5 separate regions of the Homo sapiens genome follow, and regions 1, 2, 3 and 4 are each linked to region 5. Evidence: promoter capture Hi-C in 16 types of primary human blood cells and fetal thymus (Javierre and others, 2016). All regions are on one chromosome and are shown on one strand. The core of a region is centred on a gene start or on the middle of the fragment in contact, and the rest is flanking DNA. Distances in the headings are between cores, read along the strand shown. Region 1 overlaps LINC02129 (long intergenic non-protein coding RNA 2129). Region 2 has its middle 10 kb from the start of LINC02129. Region 3 overlaps LOC105371155 (a long non-coding RNA gene). Region 4 overlaps KDM8 (lysine demethylase 8). Region 5 holds the start of IL21R (interleukin 21 receptor).

Region 1 (2,700 bases), core at 169-2,668, 240 kb after region 5:
CAAGTCACGAACACTTTCTGAGTCTCTCCTGGGCTTTAGGCTAGTGTTAAATGCCAAAGATGAAAACATGCTGATGAAAGGGACTGTGATTTGTGTTTTCCGTCATTGCTATCATCAGCGATTACTGGGCTCTCTCATTCATGCCTTATTCACCACCATTCCCTGCCTAAACAGTTGCTTTGAGCAGAAGTGCATCCTGTAAAACGTGTGAGTTTCTCCAATATCAAAACACGCCCCAGAGCCCAGCTTTTGCCTTTCCCCTTCCCTTATCCCACAGGCAAATCCCACTCACCGTTCCCTTACTGGTTTTGGTTTGGTGTCACCAGAGAGTACATTTTCCCCTCTCTCCCATCCCTCTCCAGGCCTCTGCATGCCTGTCTTTGACCAACTTGTAACTGGGCTTTAAAGCTTCCCAGCCCCAATATGCTGATATAATTATGATCATATGTTAGGCGGGTTTTGTGAGCCTTAATTAAATGTCCCTTGGCTAAAAGAAGAAAATGGCAAAAATCTGCTTCCCATCGCCAAGGCTGTGCGGGGCCTCTGGAAACCCGTTGTCTTTTGGGTCTGGGTGGCGATTCTGAAGAAAACAACCTGTCCTCCCGGCCAGGCCACAGAGAGGAAAGAGAGGCTGAGCCTGGAGGCTTGAATCTGGCCCCAGATGACCGGTCAGAAGCAGGCAGATTTCAGCTCATTTCAAGAGCCTGTGGTTGGTGGAGTGGGTGGGCTTGGTGGGCTCCGGCGTCACCGTCTTGGTAATAGAATGAGCCCTTACACTAATGCCATTGATTGTAACTGTAATTAGCGGATTTAAGGGCCGAGGATTCAATAGCTCCACAGTCATTCTAACATGCCACGAGTGGGTTAACACTTGTCATTTCCACTGTTTCCTTGGCTTTCAAAGACAGGCAGCTGCTTTCCTTGAAGGGGCTTCATAGGGGCAGTGGGGAGATTTGGGTCCAAATCCTGGTTCTGTTCCTTGCTGTGTGATCTTGGCAAGCCCCTTCACCTGTCTGTGCCTCAGAAGGTGGAAAACAGAGATAATGGTAGTGAATACTGCCTAGAGCTGTGGTGTTGATGAAACACCTGCGTGCTTGGCACAAGGTAAGTGTGCAAGAAGTGTTTTCTGTTAACATTGTTAATTTTTTATTTTATTTTGTTTTTATCTTTTTTAGAGACACGGTCTTGCTCTGTTACCCAGGCTGGAGTGCAGTGGTGCAATCTTAGCTCACTGTAGCCTCAACCTCCTGGGCTCAAGTGATCCTCCCACCTCAGCCTCCTGAATAGCTGGGACTACAGGCATGTGCCATCTTGCCCACATTACTACCTCTTATCTCTGTTTCTCTCTGTCCACCCACACAGATATGCTTTCTCAGATTTTCTGTTCATGTGGGGACCATGTTTCAGAGCTCCCAAGGTTACAAGTTACTATGCCCAGGTAATTAAAAAATTCTTTTTGGTAGCAATGCGGGTCTCACTATGTTGTCCAGGTTTGTCTCCAACTCCTGGGCTTAAGTGATCTTCCCGCCTCAGCCTCCCAAAGTGCTGGGATTACAGGTGTGAGCCACTGTGTCTGGCCCATTATTAACTAATTAGTGCATCAAACAAATGTGTCAGAAATTCCAGTGGATTCTAAGTGGACATGGGCATGTTGGGATATCCCCAGAACACTAGTAGGTGTGGGCCTACCATCTGCGTTTGCAGGAGGACTGAGAAATATCCAGAAAGCAAAGGCCTTTAGGAGCAGCAAGAAGCAGGGCCTGGAGGAGGATAAGGCAAGTGAGGCATTCAGGGCACAACATTTAAGGAGACCCCACTCTCAGGAGCTGACCCTGCACTTTCACGAGCCTGAGAGTGAGGGCCTCCTTAAATTTTCCATTCTGGGCACCTCCTTGGTCTCACCCTGGCAAGAAAATGGACCTATCCAGCTTGTTCCAGTGATCAGAGCTGGGGCACAGAGTTTTATCATAAGACTCTGTTGCAGCCAGAAGTTACCACAATGATGTTGCAGACATTTGTAATGCAATGTGGTTATGTTGTTTCTTTTTTTCTTTCTTCCTTTTTTTTTTTGAAATGGGATCTTGCTATGTTGCCCAGGCTAGACTTGAACTCCTGGGCTCTAGCGATCCTCCTGCCTCAGCTGCCCGAGTAGCTGGGACTATAGGCATGCATTGCTGCTTCTGGCCAGTGTGGTTTCTTTTGAATAGCTATGAGAAGTCTCTTTATTTAGGAGCTCTGCCTCTCCATGTCAGAAGTCAGGAGTGCTGCTTTGTAGCTTTCCTTGCAGCAGGAGTACAGGACCCAGTTCTCAGGAACAGCGTGAGGAGGGGCCTGGCACTAGCAGTGGGCAGGATAGCTGTAGGGGCCTGGTTGCAGTATTCTTGCAGTGTAATTTGGGGACTTCTGGCTTTGTGGGGTCCAAGCTTGATTCTCTGGTTCTTCTGGAGACTTGATGAATGTCCTTTGATGAATGCCTTTGTGACCTAAAGCCGCCATAGTGGAGTCTGTTGCTGGCAACCAACGACTCTGACTAGGATATGGAGGTGTCTCACGAAAGTTAAGGCAGGAATATCCCTAAGTCTTAAGAAAGGCCTGGAGCTGGGAAGTGGAAAGGTATCAGCATGCCATTTCTCTCTCTTTTTTTGGGGTTGTGGTTGTTGCTGTTTCTTCATTCATCTTTCTTAGGTTGAAAATAAATTT
Region 2 (2,700 bases), core at 31-2,530, 220 kb after region 5:
CAGAAATTTCCCATATATCCTGCATCCAGTTTTCCCTATGATTACTATCTTAGATGGTATAGTGCATCTCCCACCATTAATGAACCAATATTGATACTTTTTTAAAATAACTAAAGCTCATACTTTATTCAAATTTCCTGAGTTGTTATCTCATGTCCTTTCTGTCTTCTGGGATCCCATCCAGAACACCACATTACCTTGGTGGCCATGTCTCCTTAGACTTCTCTTGGCAGTGAGAGTTTCTCAGACTTTCCTTGGTTTTCATACCTTGATGGTCTTGAGTACTAGGCAGGTATTTTGTAGCGAGTCCCTTGGCTGGGTTTTTCTGATGTTCTAATGGTTAGGCTGGGGTTATGCATTTTGGGGTGAAGTACCCTTCTCATCACATCATATCAAGGGTACATACTATCTGGCTGGGTGCAGTGGCTCACGCCTGTAATCCCAGCACTTTGGGAGGCCGAGGTGGGCAGATTACTTGAGGCCAGGAGTTCAAGACTCGCCCGGCCAACATGGTGAAACCCCATCTCTACTAAAAATACAAAAATCAGCCAGATGTGATGATGCACACCTGTAATCCCAGCTACTCAGGAGGCTGAGGCAGGGGAATCACTCGAAGCCAGGAGACAGAGGTTGCAGTGAGCCGAGATCATACCACTGCACTCCATCCTGGGCAACAGAGCGAGACTCCGTCTCAAAAAAAAAAAAAAGGGTACATACTATCAACATGACTTACCACTGTTGATGTTAGCCTTTTTAAAATTATTTTATTTTTAATTAAATTCTTTTTAACTTTTAAGTTTAGGTGTACATATGCAGGTTTGTTATATAGGTAAACGTGTGACGGGGATTTGTTGTGCAGATTATTTCATCACCCAGGTATTAAGCTTGGTACTCACTAGTTATTTTCTCTGATCTTCTCTCTCTTCCCCCTTTCCTCCCTCCAATAGGCTCCAGTGTGTGTTGTTTCCCTCTATGTATCCATGTGTTCTCATTATTTAGCTGACATAAAATTTTTTTTTAGTAGAGACAGGGTCTTACTATGTTGCCCAGGCTGGTCTTCCAACTCCTTGGCTCAAGTGTTCCTCCTGCCTCAGCCTCCTAAAGCGCTGAGGTTATAGGTGTGAGCCACTGCACCTGACTGATGTTATTTTCAGTCTCCTCAGGGGTGGAGGGTGGGGTATCTAAAAAATTACTTGGAATTATTCAGCATGGAAGATTTCTCCATTCTCTTTCCCATTTATTTATTTACGTAATCATTTATTAATGCCTGTATTGACTCATGGTTATTTATTTTACACTCTGGGTTATAATCCAAGACTACTTCTTTTTTTTTTTTTTCTTTGAGACAGTCTCGCGCTGTTGCCCAGGCTGGTGTGCAGTGGTGTGATCTCAGCTCACTGAAACCTCTGCCTCCCGGGTTCAAGTGATTCTTGTGCCTCAGCCCCCCTAGTAGCTGGGATTACAGGCATGCACCATCATGCCTGGCTAATTTTTATATTTTTGGTAGAGATGGGGTTTCACCTTGTTGGCCAGGCTGGTCTTGAACTCCTGACCTCAAGTGATCTCCCTGCCTTGGCCTTCCAAAGTGCTGGGATTACAGGCATGAGCCACCACGCCCAGCCAAGACTTATAATTTTGTTGTTTGAATTGTTCTAGCTTTGGCCATTGGAAGCTTCTTCACACTGGCACCTGTGGTGTGTGTGTGCATGTATGTGTGTACTTCCTTACTTTTTGATGCTACAATATGCTCCAGGCTCATCATGTATATTTCCTGCCCCAGTCCTGGAATCAGCCATTTTTTTCAAGAAGTCTGGTTTCTTTTATTGGAGAATGGTATCAGAAATCAAGATCTAGGCTTTAGGTGTGTTCATTACTCTTGGGGTATACTCTTGGGGTATATGACCTTTTAAAACATTGCCTTGAAAGTTATGGGGTTCTCTTCTGCCATAATCTCAGGCCCACTCAGAATCAAGGGGAGAGGATGCAGACTGCTCCTTCCCTTTTGAAGGAGGCCTGTCATTGTCACATTGCAAGAGCTTGTGAGATGGGATAGGTTGGTGTTGTCATCTTTGGATAATACCATCTGTCACACCAGTGATGTTGTTGTCCACCCAAGAATTCTTACTTTACGTAACACATCTTTCCTCCCTGTCTGGTTTCTGTTTTGCCTCAGAGACTTTCTTTCCATGGTTTAGTTTTTCCTGCAGGTAATTTTAGTTGATACAGGGACATACATTAAATAACATTGAGTCATATTGTGAAAGTAATTTCCTTTTCAATTCTCTCCTAATCCCTTCGCTGGAGTCAAGGAGAAGGTCTCAGCTTGGTGCTACAAATGTCTTTACCATGTTTATAACTCTTGCTAATTTCTTTTTTAATGTTCTGGCTCAGAGCAGTCTTACAGCACAGCATCCTAGGTGGAATTTAATTATATGGCTTTATGTGCTTTTGCAGTTACACTCTGCAGCAGAGACGTTTGCCACTTCCCAGGATGCATGTGCACCCCCACATCTCCCAGTCACCTGGGAGTTAGGCAGGGCCACGTGACGACTATTCTTGGCCCGTGGACTCTGGGTGGAAGATTTAAACGTCAGCGAGTGGCCCTCCAGCTCTGTCATCTCCTGTTCAGTGACCAAGGAGTCCAGGCGTTCTGAGAGGGCATTGCTTCCTGATGGCTTGGGTCTGTGTCCCCGCCCAGAT
Region 3 (2,700 bases), core at 61-2,560, 250 kb after region 5:
ATTGCTTGAGCATGGGAGTTTGAGGCTGCAGTGAGCTATGATTGCACCACTGCACTCCAGCCTGGGTGACAGAGTAGGACCCTGTCTCAGTAAGAAGAAAAAAGAAACTTGTGACTTAGTGAGGATGCGTCCATTGGCCTAAGCTCACAAAAGTGGGATTGGAATCACACAAAGACCTCTTGGCTATCATTGTCTAAAGTGGACTGTCAAATACAGCCTCTTAAATTGGAAAGGAAAAGAAAACAAGCTGGATGGAAAAGAAAACAAACTATAAATAATACAATTGTTGTACCTCATGAACCAGCCTTGTATAGAAAATGTTATAATCCTACTAAATTTCTTTGTTTTCTGCCTGTATAAGCAAGATCTTAACTTTTCATCCTGAATCACTGAACCCAGTTCTTTGGAGTCTATGTTACTCAAATGACCATTCTCAGCTTTGTGCTTGAATAAACGCTTTTAAACTGGTTTTTGATCCTTTTGATTATTTCAGGTTGACACTGTCATGATCATGAATGGTTGCTATAGATTGAGTGTTAGTTCCTCCTTACCCCATTCATATGTTGAAGCCCTAACCCGCAAAGTGATGGGATTAGGAGGTGGGGCCTTTGGGAGGTAATTAGGTCATGAAGATGGAGCCCTCATTAATGAGGTTAGTGACCTTATAAGAAGAGTCATAAGGCTGGGCGTGGTGGCCCAGGCTGGGCACCGTGGCTCATGCCTGTAATCCCAGCACTTTGGGAGGCCGAGGCAGGCAGATCCTGAGGTCAGGAGTTTGAGACCAGCCTGGCCAGCATGGTGAAACCCCGTCTCTACTAAAAACACAAAAATTAGCCAGGCATGGTGGCGCGCACCTGTAGTCCCAGCTGCTTGGGAGGCTGAGGCAGGAGAATTGCTTGAACCCAGGAGGTGGAGGTTCAGTGAGCTGAGACTGTACCACTGCACTCCAGCCTGGGTGACAGAGCAAGACTCCGCCTCCAAAAAAAGTCATAAGAAAGGTGATGTATCTCTCTGCCATGTCAGAATTCAGTAAGAAGGTGGCTATCTGCAAACCAGGAAGAGAAGCCTCACCGGACACCAAATCTGTAGGCACATGGTTTTGGATTTGGCCACACAGCTGACACTGACCTTGATCTGAAACTTCTCAGTTTCAGAAGTGTGAGGACTAAATGTTGTTTGAGTCACCAGTCCATGGTATTTGTTATAGCAGCCTGAACTAAGACAATGGTAGAGTCAGGCTGTCTGGATTCCAATCCCACTTTAATGAGCTTAGGCCAATGGATACATCCTCACTGAGTCTCAGGTTTCTTTTTTCTTTTTATTGGGACAGGGTCTCACTCCATCACTGAAGCTGGAGTGCAGTGGTGTGATCACAGCTTACTGCAGCCTTGAACTCCTGTGCTCAAGCGATCCTCTCACCTCAGCCTCTTGAGTAACTGAGACTATAGGCATGTGATACCACACCCAGCTAATTTTTTATTTTTGGTGGAGATAGGTGTCTCACTATGTTGCCCACACTGGTCTGGAACTCCTGGCCTCAAGTTATCCTCCCGTCTCAGCCTTTAAAAGTGCTGGGATTACAGGCATGAGCCACTGTCTCCGGGCTTAAGTTTCTTATCTGTAGCATGAGAATGATACCACCCCATTCATAGGACTATTGTGAGGATTAAAAGAGATAAAGCATCCCTTAGTTGAGGACTTGGCACATAGTAAACATTTATTCAGTGAAACCAATATCATCACTGCTGGCTGTGTGATATTGGGCAAATTATTTTATGTCTCTGAGTCTTGGTTTTCTGTCTTTCAAATGGACAGACATCATATCACCTATCACTAACCACCTTGGGAATTTTTTTTTTTTTTGAGAGCTCTGTCACCCAGGCTGGAGTGCAGTGGTGCGATCTTGGCTTACTGCAAGCTCCGCCTCCCGGGTTCACGCCATTCTCCTGTCTCAGCCTCCCAAGTAGCTGGGACTACAGGTGCCTGCCACCATGCCCGGCTAATTTTTTGTATTTTTGGTACAGACTGGGTTTCACCATGTTAGCTAGGATGGTCTCAATCTCTTGACGTCGTGATCCACCGACCTCAGCCTCCCAAAGTGCTGGGATTACAGGTGTGAGCCACTGTGCCCGGTCTTTTTTTTTTTTTTTTTTTTTTTTTTGATACAGGGTCTCATTCTGTTGCCCAGGCTGGAGTGCAATGGCACGACTGTGGCTCACTGCAACCTCTGCTTCCCCAGCTCCAGGGATCCTCCTGCCTTTGCCTCTCAAGTAGCTGGGACTACCGGCATGCACCATGACACCTGGCTAATTTTTGTATTTTTTTGTAGAAATGGAGCTTTGCCATGTTGCCCAGGGTGGTCTGAAACTCCTGGGCTCAAGTGATCTGCCTGCCTTAGCCTCCCAGTGGGATGGTTTAAGGAGGAGAAGTGACAAGTGCCTTTAAGGCACTTAACACTGGGCCTCACACCTGGAAGTTGCCCTATAAGTGGCAAATATTGTTTTTTGTTATGAATATTATTATCACCTAATCAAGGTGGATTACTTGGGAGAGAGCTCCTGGGCTGAGGCTGGCTTTCCTCCTCCCAAGAGTGAACACTCTGGGGGTTTAAGGAAGACTGCCTTTTGCCCTACCTGCACATATATCTTTGCTGCAGTGTCAGCTACGTGGCCAAACTGACTTACCATGTGGTTTATGGCC
Region 4 (2,759 bases), core at 233-2,732, 180 kb after region 5:
CAGGTCTGGGCTCCTCAGCCCTCAAGCCCACCTTCCCATAGTGAGGCAGCCGGGGACCCAGCCCAGCCCTTCGTCAGTGGGCAGAGACACGCCCATTGGTAAGCCCAGTACGTTCAGCCACTGCCAGCCCCGGCCGGCCTCACCTAAAGAGGGGTTTTTTGGAAACGTATGAGGTGGCTTGCAGAAATGACAGGAAGGCAGGACCAGTCTAGAATGGGAGACCTTGGAATAAGGGTCATGGATGTCAAGACAATTCTGTCACTGCGGGCGCTGCTGCCACAGGGGGTCGGCTCCAGCCTGTCTGAGCTCCTCCCGACACGCCCTCAAGATGCCGGTCCAGGGAGGAGCTGATGTACAGACCTTCCAGGACCGCATCCCTGGGGCAGAGGTCATTCTCCAGAATGCAGTCAGCTTGCCGTTCTGGAAGACGGGAAGATGGACGCCAGAAGGCAAAAAGCCAACTAGCAAATAATGCCTGCAGGAGGGGCCGGGGCAGCTCCGGACTGTCCCAGTTGTCCTGTGGTTCTGGCTGTTCATTCTTTGAGCTCGAGTCAGTCCTGGCTGGGGACTCAGGAAGCCTCTGGGCACTTGGCCACTGGGGACACCAGCCCTCCTGCTGCTTGTCTCTCTTGCCTCCAACCCCTGCATGATAACACCGACATGAACGTCCCACAACGCACACTAGCACTCACTCAAAACCCTCATGAGGAGTTCCAGATGCTGCGTGTCCTCACCCACAGGGCAGGACATTTCCCCTTTTCCCATTCCTCATCTGACAAGGGACATCTGCTTGAAGCCACCTGGCCAGGATACCACACGTTAATGAACGTGGCCTCCCGTGCCCAGCTTTCTGTCACGCTACACTACAGATGGGCCGTGGGGCTTGCCAGCTGGAGCGGCTAGGCACTGGGAGCTGGGGCCACAGTCCACCTGTCCTTCAGCTGGGGAAGGGGTTTGAGTTACACAGGCGGGCCAGGAGTCACAGCCCACTGTGGCCGGGCCGCCACCCCTCCTCACTAATGGCGAACCTAGTCATGAGGGCGTCCCTGTTTTATGCCTCGCTACTTTCAGGGGTGTTGACATCTGGTGTAAATTCTTCCTGTGAAAGATTAGGTAATTCACTATTAACCATGGCAGGGAATAAACAATGTCCTTGCAAACAGCTGCCCACGGAGCCAAGTGGACTCAGCTTCCAGATAGCTCTTGTGTTTGTCACTCCCCAGCACGCCCATGGCCCCTCGGCAGCCCACTCCCAGGATGAGTATCACGGCCTCTCCCTGCCAACAGCCAGCTTTCGAGAATGCAGATTCTGCTGTGTCTGCTCAAAGGCTGAGAACCCCAGGACCTACACGATAAAGTCAAATTCCTTGGCCTGGGTAGAGGGCATCAGGAGCTGGAGTTCAGCTGCCCACAGCCACTTTCCCATCCCCCTTCTAGTTACCCCAGGGTAGCTACCTCCTGGCCAACCAGAATCTTTCCTGGGGCTGCTTGATTTTTGGCTAAAAGACAAGCAGCTGAGCCAGTGGCAGGATGCTGGCAGGATGGCAGCTCAACCCTCAGGGCTCTTTTCCCCAGGCCTATCTTAGAAGCGGGGAAGAAAGAAGCCAAGGCTGGCATGTGGCTCACACCTGTAACCCCAGCACTTTGGGAGGCCAAGGTGGGAGGATTGCTTAAGCCCAGAAGTTCAAGACCAGCCTGGGCAACATAGCAAGATCCCATCTCTATTTAGTTTAAAAAACAAAAAACAGAGGGCTGGGGAAAATCTTAATGGCCAAAACATAAAACAAACCTGCGTGCACACAAACGAGACACAATTACAGAAAGCATAGAGCCTGGCTCTCCCCCTGGCCTCAAATCCCCCAGGTTTGAGAGTCATTACTTCTGGGGGATGGTGACTAGAAGGTGGTAGGAGGGAGGCTTCTAGGAGCTGGTGATGGTTCGGTGGTTTCTTCACTTGGGAGCCTGCTCCTGGGTGAGTGCGGGTGAAAAGTCATCCAGCAAGACCTTCGCACTTCTCTGCAGGCAGGTAGGTTATCCTTGAGCCATGGGGATGACAGAAAGCTCCCACTGCTCAGCAGGGGTCCCGGCTCCTGCGCAGGTCTCTACGGACTCTCTCCTGTGACCTGGGCAATGCCCAGCTCTCTCCAGTATTCAGGCTGTGGCGTCCAGCAGGCCGTTATGGGAAGGAAGGGCAAAAGGATCAGAGTAATTGGGATCAGTGACAGCGGCTAAGGTTCATGCAGCAGCAGGGGCTCGGCACCGCCTTCTCGGCCCTCGGCAGTGAGGACTGGCCTTGCCCTCTTTTCCATATGGGCACAGCGAAGTGGGGGATCCTGGCCAAGTCACCCAGCAGGTGCACAGCGCGGCCGGGTTTGAATCAGGTAGCCAACCTCAGAGCCCATGTTTCACCCCTGCCTGTGTGACCCACCCGTTTCCCAAAAACATTCGGCTTTCTGATGCCAGAGTCCCCATGCAGGCTGTCTGTCTGCAATGTCCTTCTGGGCTCTCCCCACCTTCCTCTGCCATGCACCCCTGGCCTGGAGTGTGCTCCTTCCTGGGCAGCCCCTGCTCTGTGCCTGTCCAGTGCTGGAGCTCAGCCCCCCAGGGCTGCCACTGGGCAGTGAAGGCTCTTCAGGACACAGGTTCAGTCCTGCTTGTCTCTATAGATTCCAGGACCCAGGAAATTAGTGAACAGATGAATGCTGTCTGCATGTCAGGCCCTTTCAGCTCCTATCCTGGCTACGACCACCAGAAGCTGA
Region 5 (2,700 bases), core at 1-2,500:
CCTCCTGGCTTTGAATGTCCCGCACCTGGTCTTCTGCCTTCACTGAGCAGAGACGTCATTCCTGCGGCAAGTCCTAAGTTCCCGCTCCCCAGGGCTCCTCCACCAGGAATGTTCTTCCTTTCCCATCCTTCAAGGCTCAGCCTCCACTGACCTCCCCACCCTCCTCTCCTCCACATGCACAGGGAACTGGGTTGGCCTCTTACCATCCGACCCGTTCCCCGTGCTTCATGAGAAAGATGCAGCGACAGCTCATGGGGTCACCTGGCTTGACTGCCCGACCTGCTACGTCCCAGTTGAGTCACCGAGGGAAAATCACTCTACCTCTCGCAGCCTCATTGCCTCATCTGCGAAATGGGCACACCAGCCATTGTTTTGAATGACTGGGTGGAATCAAGGTGGTAAGACATAGAAACTGACACAGAATGGGTCCCATCAGGCTCTACACCCATGCCCGTCACCTCCCGACTCAGCCGCCCAGAATCGGGTGATTGACATGTTATGTTTGGCTTGAAACTGGCTTTCCTTCCCCAGCCCGCTACATTTTGGAGGCTGGTTTTCAAGATAGAGGGTCGTCTCAGCCACATCCCTGCTGCTGGGCCCCTAAGCTGTGCTGAACAAGAGACCCCAACCTCATTTCTGCCCAGCCTCACTGCATGAATCTTCTTTGCCTCAGTGTCCCCAATTGTGACTTGGGCACAGTCCTCCGAGCCCTCCCACTGTGACACTAGATGCAGCAGGCAGGGAACAGTCCCTCCTGGGCAGAGAAGGCACCCTGGTCCCAGCAGAAAACCAGGGCTGGAATTACCTTCTGTTTCGGCTTCTTTCTCAGAAATCCATTCCGTGTGCTGGGGGCAGTCTGATGGGCTTCTGGGGGTGGCAGCTGGGTTCAGCGTGGGGGTGACAGATGAGGGTCTGAGAAAGCAGGCAGAGGCCTGGGGTGAGAATCCACACCCAGCCCGAGTCACCAATCAGGCTGTCATAAGACCTGTCACTCTGATGACGGGCAGCTGGGCCTCCAGGCAGGTGTCCCACAGAGCAGCAGACAGAGGAAAGAGACGGCAAGGAAGGTACCAGGCGGCCGCAGCAGGGATGCACGGGCCGCAGACAGACAGACACAGCTGCGTGGCTGTCAGCCACACTCAGGGAGAGGCAGGCAGAGGGCCAGACGCCGAGCTTACGGTCACTCAGCAGAGAGACGCCAGTGGGTCTGTCTGAGGCCGCTGGCTGCCACCCAGCCGCATGTGCAGAGTGGGGAGGAAGAGGAGGATGTGGTGAGCCGCTCCCCGCCAGCCCCGCCCACCCGCAGCTGGGCTCCTCCTGGGAGGGAGTGAGAAAGAGGTGGGAGGGGGCCTGGCCCCACAGCAGGCACCCACTGTCACCAAAGGTCACCTGCAAGTAAGACATTTGGGGCCATCGGGGTGACACTTCCCTCTTAGGGACCTGTGACATCATCCCCACAGGCCTCTCAGTCATAACCCATGAGGCAGGCAGTGCCTCCTGGAGCCACCACATTGCACAGATATGGAAACTGAGGCCAGAGGTGTGAAGATGTGGCACAGTTTCACCCGTGGACCCAGAGTCCTCAGTGGCCGACTCCAGCCCCTCAGCACAGAGAGAAGGACCAGAACCTTGCCCAAGGTCCCACGGAAGCCCCTTTTTCAGACTTTGCAAACCAGCCTGTTTCTTATTCCTGAGCCTTACCTGCCTAATAGGGTCTGAGCTTGGGACCCTCTGCTCTGGCTTGACCCCCATGCCTCTCTGCCTCCATTTCCTTTGGATCCAGTCTCCTGCTGCAGAGCTCCAGGGAGCAGGACCCCTTGGGCACGTCACATCACCTCTCTGAATGCCTCACTTTGCCCATCTGTCAAATGGGGGCACCTAGCTATGAGGAAGAGGGCAGACATTAACACATGAGAATTCAAGAAGAAAATAGAGAAAAGAAATTCTCAAGAGAGTTTTCATCTTGCTAACATGCCAGAGGCCCATGAGAGGGTCAGATGTTTCTGGAAGACATTCAAGAAACCAGGAGACAAAATGTAACAAGCTTAATGCCTAGTGCAGTCTCCAAAGGAGAGCAAGAGAATTGCTACCACCACCACCGCTACCACCACCACCACTACCACTGCCATCACCACCACCTCGAATTACTTTGGTGCCTACATGATCTCACTTTATCCCACAAAGTGTGAGGCAGACAAGATTAGTCCCATTTTACAGATGGAGAGACTGAGGCCCAGAGGAGTGAAACGTCACACAAGCCAAGAAGAATTAGAGCTGGGATTTGAACCTGGGTGTGTTTGATTCCTAAGCTTATACCAGGCTGTGAAAACGGGGCCATACCAGGATGAAATGTCCCACAGTTGGGGGAGGCTATTTTATGCTGTTTTGATAACAAGATGCAATTTGTAGCTCTCCCTGCTGACTCATTTTTGGGAATCAACTTGCTGTTGACTTTCGTGACCACTCCAGAGAAAAAAGAGAAAGCGTCTTGCTATTCTTTCTTTCTTTTTTTTTCTAGCTGTTTTTGAGGAACTTGGTACAAATTCCCCTGTGGTTGATTTGAGGGATCCTGGCCCTGTAGAGCTCTTCCCAGCTACCGAAGTGTGTCGTGTTCTCTGGAGAACGAACCTTGGGAAGACACCAGCTTTTGTTTTTCTTTCTCTTGATCTTCGGGGTGAATTCTCTGATAACATGCACTGA

The links. Contacts are between HindIII fragments. The CHiCAGO score rates a contact against its expected background, and 5 or more counts as called.
Region 1: a fragment that was not itself captured here is called in contact with the fragment with the promoter of IL21R in region 5 in 15 of 17 cell types (non-activated CD4 T cells, total CD8 T cells, activated CD4 T cells and 12 more); the score reaches 24.8 in non-activated CD4 T cells.
Region 2: a fragment that was not itself captured here is called in contact with the fragment with the promoter of IL21R in region 5 in 13 of 17 cell types (non-activated CD4 T cells, total CD8 T cells, activated CD4 T cells and 10 more); the score reaches 17.8 in non-activated CD4 T cells.
Region 3: a contact is called between a fragment that was not itself captured here and the fragment with the promoter of IL21R in region 5, in 15 of 17 cell types (non-activated CD4 T cells, activated CD4 T cells, neutrophils and 12 more). The highest score is 17.1, in non-activated CD4 T cells.
Region 4: a fragment that was not itself captured here is called in contact with the fragment with the promoter of IL21R in region 5 in 13 of 17 cell types (non-activated CD4 T cells, activated CD4 T cells, total CD8 T cells and 10 more); the score reaches 19.6 in non-activated CD4 T cells.

Annotation. Positions count from the first base shown.
Region 1 is chr16:27,165,032-27,167,731 of GRCh38, reverse strand. All of the region lies in intron 2 of LINC02129 (long intergenic non-protein coding RNA 2129), which reads left to right. Among named protein-coding and RNA genes, the nearest start is that of LINC02129, 10 kb to the left of the region's middle. The HindIII fragment of the contact is 2,015 bases long and covers 411-2,425 here.
Region 2 is chr16:27,185,296-27,187,995 of GRCh38, reverse strand. No RefSeq gene overlaps it. Among named protein-coding and RNA genes, the nearest start is that of LINC02129, 10 kb to the right of the region's middle. The HindIII fragment of the contact is 788 bases long and covers 887-1,674 here.
Region 3 is chr16:27,148,619-27,151,318 of GRCh38, reverse strand. LOC105371155 (a long non-coding RNA gene) reads left to right here. Exons shown (of 3, transcript XR_950956.2): 3 at 1-9. Among named protein-coding and RNA genes, the nearest start is that of LINC02129, 27 kb to the left of the region's middle. The HindIII fragment of the contact is 7,033 bases long and covers 1-2,700 here.
Region 4 is chr16:27,220,711-27,223,469 of GRCh38, reverse strand. It overlaps KDM8 (lysine demethylase 8), which reads right to left. Exons shown (of 8, transcript NM_024773.3): 8 at 1,702-2,759. The coding sequence ends at 2,740. Among named protein-coding and RNA genes, the nearest start is that of KDM8, 19 kb to the right of the region's middle. RefSeq lists an enhancer at 390-1,075. The HindIII fragment of the contact is 8,324 bases long and covers 1-2,759 here.
Region 5 is chr16:27,400,724-27,403,423 of GRCh38, reverse strand. It overlaps IL21R (interleukin 21 receptor), which reads right to left and starts at 1,250. Exons shown (of 9, transcript NM_181078.3): 1 at 806-1,250. RefSeq lists enhancers at 619-738, 631-1,173. The HindIII fragment of the contact is 2,346 bases long and covers 1-2,046 here.